Linked DNA regions of Homo sapiens: all the other regions are linked to region 3. Evidence: promoter capture Hi-C in 16 types of primary human blood cells and fetal thymus (Javierre and others, 2016). All regions are on one chromosome and are shown on one strand. Each heading gives the region's core, a stretch centred on a gene start or on the middle of the fragment in contact. The rest is flanking DNA. Distances are from core to core; before and after follow the strand shown. Region 1 overlaps SMG9 (SMG9 nonsense mediated mRNA decay factor). Region 2 overlaps PHLDB3 (pleckstrin homology like domain family B member 3). Region 3 holds the start of ZNF428 (zinc finger protein 428).

Evidence for each region. The method cuts DNA at HindIII sites, captures the fragments that hold promoters and counts their contacts. A CHiCAGO score of 5 or more calls a contact.
Region 1: a fragment that was not itself captured here is called in contact with the fragment with the promoter of ZNF428 in region 3 in 12 of 17 cell types (non-activated CD4 T cells, naive CD8 T cells, monocytes and 9 more); the score reaches 9.7 in non-activated CD4 T cells.
Region 2: a fragment that was not itself captured here is called in contact with the fragment with the promoter of ZNF428 in region 3 in 3 of 17 cell types (naive CD8 T cells, fetal thymus and total CD8 T cells); the score reaches 5.2 in naive CD8 T cells.

Annotation. Positions count from the first base shown.
Region 1 is chr19:43,748,222-43,752,399 of GRCh38, reverse strand. It overlaps SMG9 (SMG9 nonsense mediated mRNA decay factor), which reads left to right. Exons shown (of 14, transcript NM_019108.4): 2 at 1,653-1,808. The coding sequence starts at 1,659. Among named protein-coding and RNA genes, the nearest start is that of SMG9, 4.7 kb to the left of the region's middle. The HindIII fragment of the contact is 8,040 bases long and covers 1-4,178 here.
Region 2 is chr19:43,478,041-43,482,225 of GRCh38, reverse strand. It overlaps PHLDB3 (pleckstrin homology like domain family B member 3), which reads left to right. Exons shown (of 16, transcript NM_198850.4): 14 at 2,633-2,849; 15 at 4,094-4,179. Among named protein-coding and RNA genes, the nearest start is that of LYPD3, 15 kb to the right of the region's middle. The HindIII fragment of the contact is 3,772 bases long and covers 1-3,136 here.
Region 3 is chr19:43,616,914-43,621,708 of GRCh38, reverse strand. ZNF428 (zinc finger protein 428) reads left to right here and starts at 2,080. Exons shown (of 3, transcript NM_182498.4): 1 at 2,080-2,151. It overlaps LOC105372411 (a long non-coding RNA gene), which reads right to left and starts at 2,648. Exons shown (of 4, transcript XR_001753942.2): 1 at 2,077-2,648. RefSeq lists a silencer at 2,027-2,266 and an enhancer at 2,071-2,721. The HindIII fragment of the contact is 4,307 bases long and covers 1-4,251 here.

The DNA.
Region 1 (4,178 bases), core at 833-3,332, 130 kb before region 3:
GCTTGAGCAGATAGCCCCACTGAGTTCTACAAACAGTTAAGTAGTCAAATACCACCCTAGACTGATGTGTGAACAGCTGGGAAAACTCTCTAAGGACCTGTAAACAGATACTGAAATGGTGGAGAGTGGGTTGCATAGGTAGCCAGACATTATATAACATCTCAAATAGAATAAACACTGGAGACACCTTGAAATGAAATTCACTGTGAGGGAAGGCAGACCGTCAGGAACGGAAGACAGACAGACACTGAAATGTAGTGGGATACCAGGTGAAAATAGGCCCTTGAGTGTTGGAACCTCACCATGACATACACTAGTAAGTGGCTGGAGCCCCACCATGACATACACTAGTAATGACTAATCAAGAGTAGCTGTTGGACTGAGGATCACATTGCTGGTTTGTAAGCAAATGCCTTGCTGCATTTTGGTAAGGAGAATATCCTATTTTTATGTGAACTTGCCCCTGTGAGTTTATTTATGTTGGAGCATTTTAATAGTTGGGAATAGTTTTGGCTGCAAGTAAGAGATAGATGTGTATTTGTTTTTCACTGCCTCTCGAAGTAGGCAATTCAAGGTTAACGTGGAACCCCCCAACCTTGTGTCTTGTTTTATTGTACCTTCCATTAAATTGCCTTACAGCCCAGGATAGCTGCTTGAGCTCCAACCTCCACACCCACATTCCTGTCACTGGGAGGAAGGGGCAGAAGGCATGTGCCAGAGTCTGTGAAGGGAAGTTTCTGGAAGCTGCCAAGCCACACTTCTAGTGTCATACCATAGCCAGAAAGTACTTACTCACATGGCCACACCTAACTGCAAACAAGGATGAGAAGTTTGTTCTGGATAGCCATGTACCTAGCTCAGAACTGAGGGTTTTACTTTTTTGGAAGAAGTCAGGAGTGGATGTTGGGAACCAGCTTGCAGTTGCTACCACAGGCCCAGAGCTCTGTTGAAAGGAAGGGCCTTGGCCGGGCATGGTGGCTCACGCCTATAATCCCAGCCCTTTGGGAGGCTGAGGCAGGTGGATTGCCTGAGGTCAGGAGTTTGAGACCAGCCTGGCCAACATGGTGAAACCCCATCTCTACTAAAAATACAAAAAAAATTAGTCGGGTGTGGTGGTGGGCATCTGTAATCCCAGCTTCTCAGGAGACTGAGGCAGGAGAATTGCTTGAATCTGTGAGGTGGAGGCTGCAGTGAGCCGAGATTACGCCATTGCACTCCAGCCTCGGTGACAAGAGCGAAACTCTGTCTCAAAAAAAAGAAGAAAGGAAGAGCCTTGGTTGGGCACAGTGGCTCACATCTGTAATCCCAGCACTTTGGGAGGCCAAGGTAGGTGCATCACCTGAGGTCAGGAGTTCGAGACCAGCCTGGCCAACATGGTGAAACCCCATCTCTACTAAAAATATAAAAATTAGCCAGGCATGGTGGTGGGTGCCTGTAATCCCAGCTACTTGGGAGGCTGAGGCAGAAGAATTGCTTGAACTCAGGAGGCAGAGGTTGCAGTGAGCCAAGATCAGGCCACTGTACTCCAGCCTGGGCGACAGAGAGACTCCATCTCCAAAAAAAAGAAAGAAGGGACTTCGTATAGTCTAGGATATGCCAAGTAGAGTAGGAAGAGACTCTGTCATCCTGAAATCCCCTCATTCCCTCCATAGGTAACCATGTCTGAGTCTGGACACAGTCAGCCTGGACTCTATGGGATAGAGCGGCGGCGACGGTGGAAGGAGCCTGGCTCTGGTGGCCCCCAGAATCTCTCTGGGCCTGGTGGTCGGGAGAGGGACTACATTGCACCATGGGAAAGAGAGAGAAGGGTGAGTGTCTGGACCCAGGAGCAGCATTCATGTATCTATTTGGTTCCACGCACCTGCCATGTGCCAGGCACTAATCCAGATGCCGGGGATATATTTGTAAACAAAACCTACCACCCTCATGGATAAAGAAGGTGGAGAGTGATAAAGGAGACTGTTCTAGATAACATGGTCAGAGAAGGTCTCTCTGAAGAGGTGACTTTTTAGCAGAGACTTGAAGGAGATGAGAGAATAAGCCATGCCAGCATCTGAGATGAAGAGCATTCCAGACAGAAAGAACAGCAAGCGCAGAGGCCCTGAGGTGGCCCATATCTGGCGTGTTCAAGGAGTAGCCATAGGAGGCCAGGATGGCTGCAATTGATGAGGAAGGAGGGAGAGAGATAGGAGATGAAGTCAAGTAACTGGGGCCAAATCATGTAGGACCTGGTAGGCCTTGGAAAGAACTTTGTATTTCACTGAGTGAAATTGGCATTGGAGAGTTTGAGCTGAGAGGTGCCATAGCTCATGTTTTAAAGGGTCATGTCATAATAACAACAACTGTTACTCTTTTTACTGAGCAGCCTATACTGTGCTTGCACTGTGCAAAGTCTTTTACATCCTTTGGGTCTTCCTGAACCCTTACAGCTACCCCATGAGGTAGATTCTATGATAGATCTGATTTTCACTAATGAGGAAAATGAGCCCCAGAGGTGAAGGGACTTTTCCAAAATCAGAGTCAATAAACTTTGGGTCCAGGACTCAGATCCAGGTCCAGCTTAGTCTCACATATAGCATCGCTCTGCCTGCTGTAGAGAGCGCCCTGGGCTGGGAATCAGGAGGGATCGGCTTGTGCCCAGGCCCAGCCTCGCTCCCCTCCTGTACCTAGGTGACTCACTGCCAGAACCTGCCCCCTGGGCTTTTTTCTCTAGGGCCCTGTCCACCTCAGAGATGTCAGGTAGGGTGGAAGTAGGTGACAACTGGGGCCAGCTTCTGAGCTATAAAACTGTACAAACATGAAGAATAGTTTTTTCACAGTGAGCTGGGCTCTTACTTGCTCCTTCTCTTGGGCCACAGTGTAAATGAGAACACGTAGTCTCTCTTCCTTCCACATAATGCCCTCCTGGGGAATGTTATCCCGCCACACCTTCAGGTTTAATCCTTGAACAAGCACCTCCTAAACCTCATCTTTGTCTCTAAATGTGCTACTGAGCCCTGGCAGCCTCTTGTCACACCCATGGGCTTCTTATCCTCTGTGTCCCGTGCTGACCTCGGCATCTTTCTGCCATTTTTCCTCTTCCCATTTTTTTCTCCCATATCAGTGACAGCCCATTGGGCCTTATCCTGAATGCCTCTCTCGCCTCTCCCCTGCTTCCTCTGTGCTAGTCAGGCACCAGTGCTTTACATTCTGCCGCCTGGTTATATCTGTGTGTCTTCTCTCTACCCTCACAGCGTTCATCCCAGGTATAGACTGAATATCCGAAGTGCTCCAAAATTCCAAATGTTTTGAGCACCAACGTGACATTTAAGGGAAATGTTTATTGGAGCCTTGCAAATGGATTTGGGGTGCTCAACCAGTAAATATGCAAATATTCCAAAGTTCAAAAAAATCCCAAATTCAGAACACTTCTGGTCCCAGGCATCTGAGATAAGAGATACTCAGCCTGTATCATCTCCCCCTTCCTAGCCTCCTGGAAGTCCACAGCCTCTCCTCCTGTAGTTTTTCCCTTGAAACTTCTTTTCGAAGCACTTTCACTTCGTCTTTTTGTTTGTTCTTCACCGTAAGCCAGTGAAGTGAGCAGGGTTTAAGTAAGTGTCCTCAGTATATTGGTGAAGGAACAGACACAGTTAGGGGTCAAGACTCTCATGAGGTTACTCAAGGAACCAGAGAAAGAACGGGACTCAGACTCAGATTTCTCCCCTCTTCAGCAGACTGAGGGTAAGTTGGGGAGGCATGAAGAGGTCAAGGCTTGGGATCAGCCTGCCAGCTTTGCCAGAGCAGGAGGGGGCTGAGGCAGAGGTGATCAGGATAGCAAGTGCCACCAGCAGCTCTCACATAGTGAGCACCTGCCATGTGTCAGGTGCCATGCTAGACACTTGATGAGTTCTCTCTCCTTTCATCCTCATCATAGTCTGTGAGGAAGGAATTCCCATACCCACTCACAGATGGGAAAATGAGGCATAAGTGAAGGTGGCGAGGGTGGTTCCTTATTCAAGTTCACACAGCCAACACGAGGCGGGATCAGGTTTGCACCCAGACCTGTCTAGCTCCTAGTTCCTTTCCTCCTGGGCTTGTTGCCTCGCAGAGGCAGCTGAGCAGAATGCTTGAGGATTTGGTTCTGCAGCCAGGCTGCCTGGGCTTTGTGACTTTGGGCAATCTGCTTAACCTTTCTAGGC
Region 2 (4,185 bases), core at 1-2,500, 140 kb after region 3:
TCCCAAGCCCATCCCTGGTCTCCTCCTAGATTGGGGCCCAGCTCCCCTACATCCTAGTTTGGTGACCTTGGAGAGTCACCTCTTCTTAAAGCCTCAGTTTCTTGATCTGTCTAGCAGGAACATTAATGGGTTCTTTTGGAGAAGAAACGAGGTAATCACAGTGACCACTTGGCATAGTGCCTGACACAGAGCGGGAGCTTCCACACACAGTGGTGATCCTTGGTCTTTCTGTGTGGATTTGGGGAGATTGCAGGCCCAGCGGGTACTCTTTAAACCTGGCCTTTCCCTCCCTTCCTTTCCCTCCTCCCTAATCCTTCTCATTTCCCCACCTCACTCTCCTGTCTCCAACCAGCAGATCTCATCTCTGTTTCTCATCCCTTCTTGCTCTGGCCTTGCTTCAGTTTTCTTTCTTTTCTTTCTTTTTTTTTTTTTGAGACATGGTCTCCCTTTGTCACCCAGCCTGGAGTGCCGTGGTGTGATCTCGGCTCACTGCAACCCCCACCTCCTGGGCTCAAGCGATCCTCCCACCTCAGCCTCCTAATTAGCCGGGATCCTAGGCACACACCACCATGCCTGGCTAATGTTTGTATTTTTGTATTTTTTTTTTGAGATGGAGTTTCGCTCTTGTTGCCAAGGCTGGAGTGCAATGGTGCCATCTTGATTCACCGCAACCTCCACCTCCCGAGTTCAAGCGATTCTCCTGCCTCAGCCTCCTGAGTAGCTGGGATTACAGGCATGCGCCACCACGCCTGGCTAATTTTGTATTTTCAGCAGAGACAGGGTTTCTCCATGTTGGTCAGGCTGGTCTCAAACTCCCAACCTCAGGTGATCCCCCCACCTTGGCTTCCCAAAGTGCTGGGATTGTAGGCGTGAGCCACCACGCCCAGCCTAATTTTTGTATTTTTTGTAGAGACGGGGTTTCGCCATGTTGCCCCAGGCTGGTCTCAAACTCCTGGGTTTAAGTGATCCTCCCCTCTTGGCCTCCCAAAGTGCTGGGATTACACGTGTGAGCCACCGCACCCATCCTGCTTCAGTTTTCTAACTCCTTGACACTCAAAGTGTGGCTGGTGGAACAGCAGCATCAGGGCCCACCTGGGAGCTTGTCAGACATGCAGAACCTCTCCCCCTACTCCAGACTCCACCCTGAAATGACTGAATCAGAGTCTGCATTTTAACATTTTAACAAAATCCCCAGCGGATCTGCTTGCATGAAGAAATCTGAGATGTACTACCCTGAACCTCAGTTTGACCTCCGGAATCATACCACTGTTTGCAGGGATTATTTGGGAAGAATAGGTTGGATCAGACCAGCTCATGGTCAGGCTCTCATAAATAGTGGACACTTGTATTGCCTTAAATCCTCCTCCCCAACCTGTATGACCATCTGAGGTGACCACTCTACCTGGTGAGTCCTGGCTCTGTCAGCTCTGGCTGTGTGACTTGTGCCGAGTGACTTAACCTCTCTGAGTCTTGGTTTCCACATCTGTGAAACGGAGATAAATGTACTTACCCCTTCAGGAGAGTTTGAGGGGGCAGAGATTATACCTAGAAAGTACTTAGCAGAGGATTATATTCATTAATTTCATCACAACAATAATAATGTAAACAAGCTCTCTCTTTCTTTTTTATTTTTGAGACAGGGTCTCACTCAATCACCCAGGCTGGAGTGCAGTGGTGCAATCATAGCTCAATGCAATTTCGATCTCCTGGGCTCAAGTGATCCTCCTGGGCTCAGCCTCCTTAGTAGCTGGAACTACAGGTGTGCAGCACTAGGCCCAGCTAATTTTTTGGATTTTTAGTAGAGATGGGGTCTCACTATATTGCCCAGGCTGGTCTCCAACTCATAGCCTCAAGTGATCCTCCCACTTCAGCTTCCCAAAGTGCTGAGATTACAGGCATGAGCCACTGCACATAGCTTCTCTTCTCTCTCTCCTTTTTTTTTTTTTTTTTTTTTTTTTTTTAAATAGAGAAGGGGTCTTCTGTGTTGCCCAGGCTGGTTTCCAACTTCTGGGATCAAGGGATCCTCCCACCGCAGCCTCCTGAGTAGCTGGAATTACAGGCTTAAGCCACCACACAGGCTCCAATCTTCATTTCTTTTTTCCAAAAAAAATTTTTTTTTTTCAGAGACAGGATCTCACTATGTTGCCCAGGCTGCCCTTGAATTCTTAGGCCTAAGGGATCCTCCTACCTCAGCCTCCCAAAGTTCTGAGATTACAGGCATAAGCCACCACACCCGGCCCGATCTTTATTTCTTTTGATAGGCCTCTGATGTTTCAGGGTGAGCTCTAGGGTCAGAAATACCTGGGTTCGTGTCCCAGTTCTGCTGCCTAGAAGCTCTGTGTGACCTCGGGTGCATTATGTCATCTCTCTGTACCTCATTTTGCTCATTTGTAAAATGGGGCTCACAGTTGCCATGAAGTGCCAAGGAGCTGATGTCCATAAAGTCCTGGGCAGAGCATCACAGTCAATCCACGTAGCCGTTGCATTTGTCAGATGGTCCTAGTTAATATTACCCTCTAAAGGCTGTAGCGGGCCTTACATGCAAGCTGCTATGACTTGCTCCCCTCGAGGGGCTCCAGGCTGTAGAATCCCCCGCCCCTTACATCAGCTGCCCCGTCTCTTTGCTCCCCAGGCCCCACCCACCCCACCCCACCCTCCAGGCCCGCGAATCTTGGATCTCCGGCAGCATCTGGAGGGATGGGGCCACAACCCGGAAAACTGCCCACATGTGCAGGTGTCTGGGTGCTGCTGCCGTGGACCCCTGGTGAAGATGGGCGGCCGCATCAAGACCTGGAGGAAGCGATGGTTCTGCTTTGACCGCCAAGCCCGCCGCTTGGCCTACTATGCGGGTAAGCCCAGCCTGGCCACCATGGGCCCCAGGACGCTGGAATTCCACTCCGGAGGCCTTTCCTCTACAGGCACCAGAAGTCCTGGCCCCCACTTTCCATGTTCCCCAGGATCCAGAAGTTTGGTTCCCTAGCTCCTAACTTCCCTACAACCCAGGAGTCCAGGCTCCCAGCTCTCTCTCTCCTCCAGACCCTGGAATCCAGATCCCCAGCCCCTCTTTAAGCCACCCAGAATTCAAACCCCCAGTCCTCCTCAGGGACATAGATAACAGTTTAGTACAATTCAAGCTTCCCAGGGCCCATGTTCCTAAGACACCCATGAGTCTGAACCTGCACTGTCAGCTGCCCCCAGCCCCCCAATGGCCAGGAGTCTGGGGCCCTTGTCCTTCTTCTCTAGGAGAATCAATTATTCCAAACCTCTCCTTGGACACTTTTTTTTGTTTTTGTTTTTGTTTTTGTTTTTTGGAGACAGAGTCTTGCTCTGTCGCCCAGGCTGGAGTGCAGTGGTGCGATCTCAGCCCACTGCAACCTCCACCTCCCCGGCTCAAGCGATTCTCCTGCCTCAGCCTCCTGAATAGGCGGGACTACAGGCTCATGCCACCACACCTGGCTAATTTTTTGTATTTTTAGTAGAGACAGGGTTTCACTGTGTTAGCCAGGATGGTCTCGATCTCCTGACCTTGTGATCTGCCTGCCTCAGCCTCCTAAAGTGCTGGGATTACAGGCTTGAGCCACTGCACCCAGCCTCCTTGGACGCTTGTATTGTCTCAAATCCTTCTTCCCTAACCTGTATGACCATTTGACTCTACTTGGTGAGTCCTGGCTCTGTCAGCTCTGGCTGTGTGACTTGTGCTGGGTGCCTTAACTTCTCTGAGTCTTGGTTTCCACATCTGTCAGATGGAGATAAATGTACTTACCCCTCCAGGAGAGTTTGAGAGGGTTAGAGATTATACCTAGAAAGCACTTGAGCACTCCCTGAGTTCCTTCCCTTCTCAGAGGCCGAGCATTCAGGGCCTAGGATTCCAGCTCCACAGACCCCACTCCCCAATCATGTCCAGTTTCTGTGCCCAGTCTCCCATCCAGCGTTAACATTCACTCACCTCCCAACCTTTAGAGACCTTCAGACTCTTGTCACCATGTTTCTTACCCAAATCCAGTCTCAGGACTTAGGGCCAATGACCCTCACCTCGACACACACAGACACACCTTTCTCACTGGCTCTCTTTTTCTCTTACCTCCCCTACCAGACAAGGAAGAGACCAAGCTCAAAGGTGTCATCTACTTCCAGGCCATTGAGGAAGTCTATTATGACCACTTACGCTGTGCCTTCAAGGTGAAG
Region 3 (4,795 bases), core at 831-3,330:
ACTATTAATATAAATGCAGAGTATGGTGATGTGGTATGCCATTGTCATTATGGAAAACTTCAAACCCACAGGAGTAGACAGGACAATAACGTCCCATGTACTCTTTTTTTTGAGACCAAGTCTCGCTCTGTCGCCCAGGCTGGAGTGCAGTAGCGCCATCTCGGATCACTGCAAGCTCCGCCTCCCGTGTTCACGCCATTCTCCTGCCTCAGCCTCCCGAGTAGCTGGGACTACAGGCGCCTGCCACCACGCCCGGCTAATTTTTTTTTTTTTTTTTTTGTATTTTTAGTAGAAATGGTCTAGGATGGCCAGGATGGTCTCGATCTTCTGACGTGATCCGCCCGCCTCGGCCTCCCAAAGTGCTGGGATTACAGGCGAGACCCAGAGTCTCGCTGGGTGGCCCAGGCTGGAGTGCAGTGGCTCAATCTCGACTCAATGCAACCTCTGCCTCCAGGGTTCAAGTGATCTTCGTGCCTCAGCCTCCCAAGTAGCAAGGATTACAGGCACCCCCCATAACCCCTGGCTAATTTTTGTAGTTTTAATAGAGGCAGGGTTTCACCATGTTGCCCAGGCTGGTCTCAAGCTCCTGACCTCAGGTGATACACCAGCCTCGGCCTCCCAAAGTGCTGGGATTACGGGCGTGAGCCACCGCGCCCAGCCCCATGTACTCTTCATGCCAGTTACAACCACCACCAACTCATGGCCAATCCCGATTTATCCATAACTCCAGTCAAATGTGTAAGTGCTATTATGGAGAGATCAGGAAAAGCCTCTCAGATTGACATCTGTACCAAGATATGAATGGTGAGCACAAGAGTAGGTATTCAAAGGTCAGAGGGAAAAGCATTTTCAGGCGGAGGGAACGGCAAGAGCAGAGGCCCGAGCTGGTAAAGAGTTTGGGGTAAGGTGGAGCTGGACAGAAATGGAGGGAGGAGGAAGTAGGTGGGGTCAGAAAGATAAGCACGGCCAGACCAGGTGTATAGCCCTGAGGCCATGATAAAGATTTTTGGATTTTTTTTTTTTCCTAATGGGATCCCTTTGGGGGAGTTTTAAGCCAGAATGTGACAAAGTCACTTACAGGAAGACTGGAATGTAGCCATAGTTGAACTCTAACATCGTCTATAGAACCATTTCCCGTCTCCAGTTAGGTTCTAGGCATACTAAGCTGCTCTTGCTTCCTCAATCAAAACATGCGCTTCTATTTTTTTTTTTTTTTTTTTGGCCTCTGGGCCTTGGCGCTTGCAGTTCATTCTGCCAGACCCATTCCCATTCTAGTTGGCTCCTATTCGTACTTGGCTTAAGGATCACCACCTCCTGGAAGTCTTTCTAGAACCAGAGGCCGGGGCAAGCGCCTCTTAGGCTCCCACAGCCCCCTGTGTTCCTCACTCCAGGTCTGACCTTCTGGGTAGTAGTTGTCTAATTAGGTGCGTATCTCCTTCGACTGGGGTGCCGTGAGTACAGGAGTATGGTTCACTGCAGAAACCACAGAATCCGCCAGCATGGGGCCTGACACCTAGGAGATCAATAAACCTTTATCCTGGTTGGGAGGGGTCCTGGCCCTCGTGCCCTCTCTCAGGATGCAAACTGATCCCCTACGAAGACAAGGCTACCCACTTCGCGTCAGTCTGCAGTCCCTGCGCGCATGCGCTTTGCTCAGGTTGCCCCCGCCATATGCTAATCACTGCGCTCTGGAGTAAGGCCCCTCCGGGGAATATGCAAATCACTCCTTCCAGTGCGGGAGGCCTTTCATTGTCCCGCGCTAGGATTATGCAAATAAGCAGGCCTCGGGCCCAGGATCCAGTCCGAACTAGCGCCCTCCACCCCCAGCGCATCCCAGTTTTGTAAGGCGCGTTCCTGCCCCGCACACGCACGCGCGAACCCTTCAGCTTCTTGTTCCTTTGGGCCGCGGGCTGTACCAAGTAAACCCAGGCAGCGAGGGGCAAAGCACGGCGCCCCCCGCGCGGGTCTCGTCGACGGCCCGACGCGCATAGCCCCTCTTCCCACAGCGCTACAGGACTAGTCCGTCTCGCCGCGCAAGCGCCCTAGGCTCTTCACGCCCCCTGCGCGCTGTCCTACCCTACTTGCGACGCAGGCGCAGAGGCTGGGCGTGCAGCCGCCGCCGCAGAGCCGGAGCGGGGGCCGCCGGCGCCGGTGAGTGTCCCGGGCAGGGGTGCGCGAGGCATGCCGGGAAGCGGGCGCTACGGCCCCGCTGCATGATGGGAGCGACGACTCCCGTCACCGGGGAGCCGGCGGTCTGGGGCCGTGGTGACCCGAGGGCTTCTTTTTCTCCCCCTACGCGTTTGTGCCGCCCTGGGGCATCCTGGGAGAACCGAGCGCTCCGCCTTGAAGCGCTGTGGGAGTCGGTCCGCTAGTCGTAGGCCTGGTGCATCCTGGGAAAGAGTGTCCCAGATCCTTGTCGAGACCGGTTCCTTTTATCCCACACCTGCCGCTGACCGTCCTGGAGGCTTGGAGCGCTTCCACACGGGGAGTCTGGGAAGGTGGTCGCTATAGGCCTAAGGCATCCTGGGAAGAACTGCCACAACGAATTGTGGGAACTGGCCGTTATTGTCCCGTAGTGGAAGGTTTTGCCCTGGTCTCTTTGCTCGAGCATTGGAACGGGTGCCTATTGTGTTCACGCGGGGCATCTTGGGAATTGACTGCTATAGGCCCAGGGCATTGTGGGGTCTCCAGCACTGTGTTTGCCTTTCAGTTTGGCTGCCATAGGCGTGGTAGGAGTGGGACTTGTGAACCAAGGGATGGCCCTACCTGACGTCTGGAATACTCTGGAAGGGGCCTTGTGTGACGTGGGCTTGGAAAAGTGTAGGCTGATGGGCATTGTCTCCTGGTAACTTCAGGGAATGTCTTGATTGTCCCAGGTGTGTGGTTGCCGTATAAAATATACAATGTCTAGTTAAATTTGAATTTCAGATAAACAATTATATCCAAAAGATACAACCTTTTAGAAAAGTATGTCCCAAATATCACATGGAACATAGCTATATTAATTCTTTGGGCTAGTTGCAGTGATACCAATACTTTGGGAGGCTAAGGCAGGAGGATCGCTTGAGACCAGGAGTTCAAGACCAGCCTGGGCAATATAGTGAGACCCCCGTCTCTACAAAAAAAAAAAAAAAAAAAAAAAGTAAAAATTAAGCCTGGCATGGTGGCGCATACCTGTAGTCCCAGCTGCTCTCCTAGGGGCTAGTAGGGTACCTTGAGCACAGGAGTTTGAGGTTACAGTGAGCTAACCTCCCAACCTGGTTATGGGGGAGTACATGAGTTAAGGCCTGGAAGCCCCTTTCCTACAGATCACCCTACTGCACTCCAGCCTGGGCAACTGAGCGAGACCCTGTCTCTTAAAAAATATAAATAAGTAGGCTGGGCGCGGTGGCTCACGCCTGTAATCCCAGCACTTTGGGAGGCCGAGGCGGGTGGATCACGAGGTCAGGAGATCGAGATCATCCTGGCTAACACGGTGAAACCCCATCTCTACTAAAAATACAAAAAATAGTCGGGCGTGGTGGCAGGCGCCTGTAGTCCCAGCTACTCGGAAGGCTGAGGCAGGAGAATGGCGTGAACCCAGGAGGCGGAGCTTGCAGTGAGCCGAGATCGTGCCACTGCACTCCAGCCTGGGCGACAGAGCAAGACTCCGTCTCAAAAAAAAAAAAAAAAAAAAAAAAAAAGCCGGGCATGGTGGCACGCGCCTGTAGTCCCAGCTACTTGGGAGGCTGGGGCAGGATAATCGCTTGAACCCAGGAGGCAGAGGTTGCAGTGAGCCGAGATCGCGCTACTGCGCTCCAACCTGGGCGACAGAGTGACACTCCGTCCCAAAAAAGAAAATTAAATAAATAAATAAATAAGGGCCAGGTGTGGTAGCTCATGCCTGTAATCCCAGCACTTTGGGAAGTGGGAGGCCAAGGCAGGAGGATTGTTTGAGCCAGGAATTTGACAGCAGCCTTCGCAACATAGTGAGACACCATCTCCGCAACAAAAACCCAAAAACAAACAAAAAAATTAATTGGATGTCTTCTGTTTTTATTTGCTAAATCTGGCAATCTTATCTTGGTATAAAGTAGAATTCCCAAATTAGATGGGGCCCTGTAGGCAATAGGGTATCATTAGAATTCTCCTCTGCCAATTATGAAATCTGTCTTTAAAAGCCAAGATTTAGGTGCTTTCTTTAGGAAGTTGCCCTGCCAATGATGCCAATGGTCCTTTGCCCCAGCCACCTCCAGGTTTCAATCTGAAGCTTTTCTCTTTAGTCCCCAGCATTAAACTTGACATCCAGACTTTGAAGGGACCATGTATTTTCCACCATTGTATCCCCAGTGCATGGGCCTTGGCATGTAAGAGATATAGCTGAGGCTGCATCAACTGGCCCTGCTTGGTTCTCTACTGTCAGGGAGTACAGTGGAAGACAGTAGTGGTGTGTGTGTGTGGTGGGGTTGGTGGGGGGCGGGGGCGGTCCGTTGGTGAAGAGGGAGAGAGAGAAGTCACAGAAGGCTTCCTGGCAGAGGCAGTATTTCAGCGGGCAAGAAGTATAGAGGTTCTTATGTTTGTGGTGGGCTTTGAAGGGTGAAAAGGAGTTCTCCAGGCCAAAAAGGGGGAAGGAGGGCTGGGCGTGGTGGCTCTTGCCTGTAATCCCAGCACTCTGGGAGGCCAAGGTAAATGGATCACCTGAGGTCAGGAGTTTGAGACCAGCCTGGCTGACATAATGAAACCCTGTCTCTACTAAAAATACCAAAAAATTAGCCGGGCATGGTGGTGGTGGCTGCCTGTAATCCCAGCTACTAGG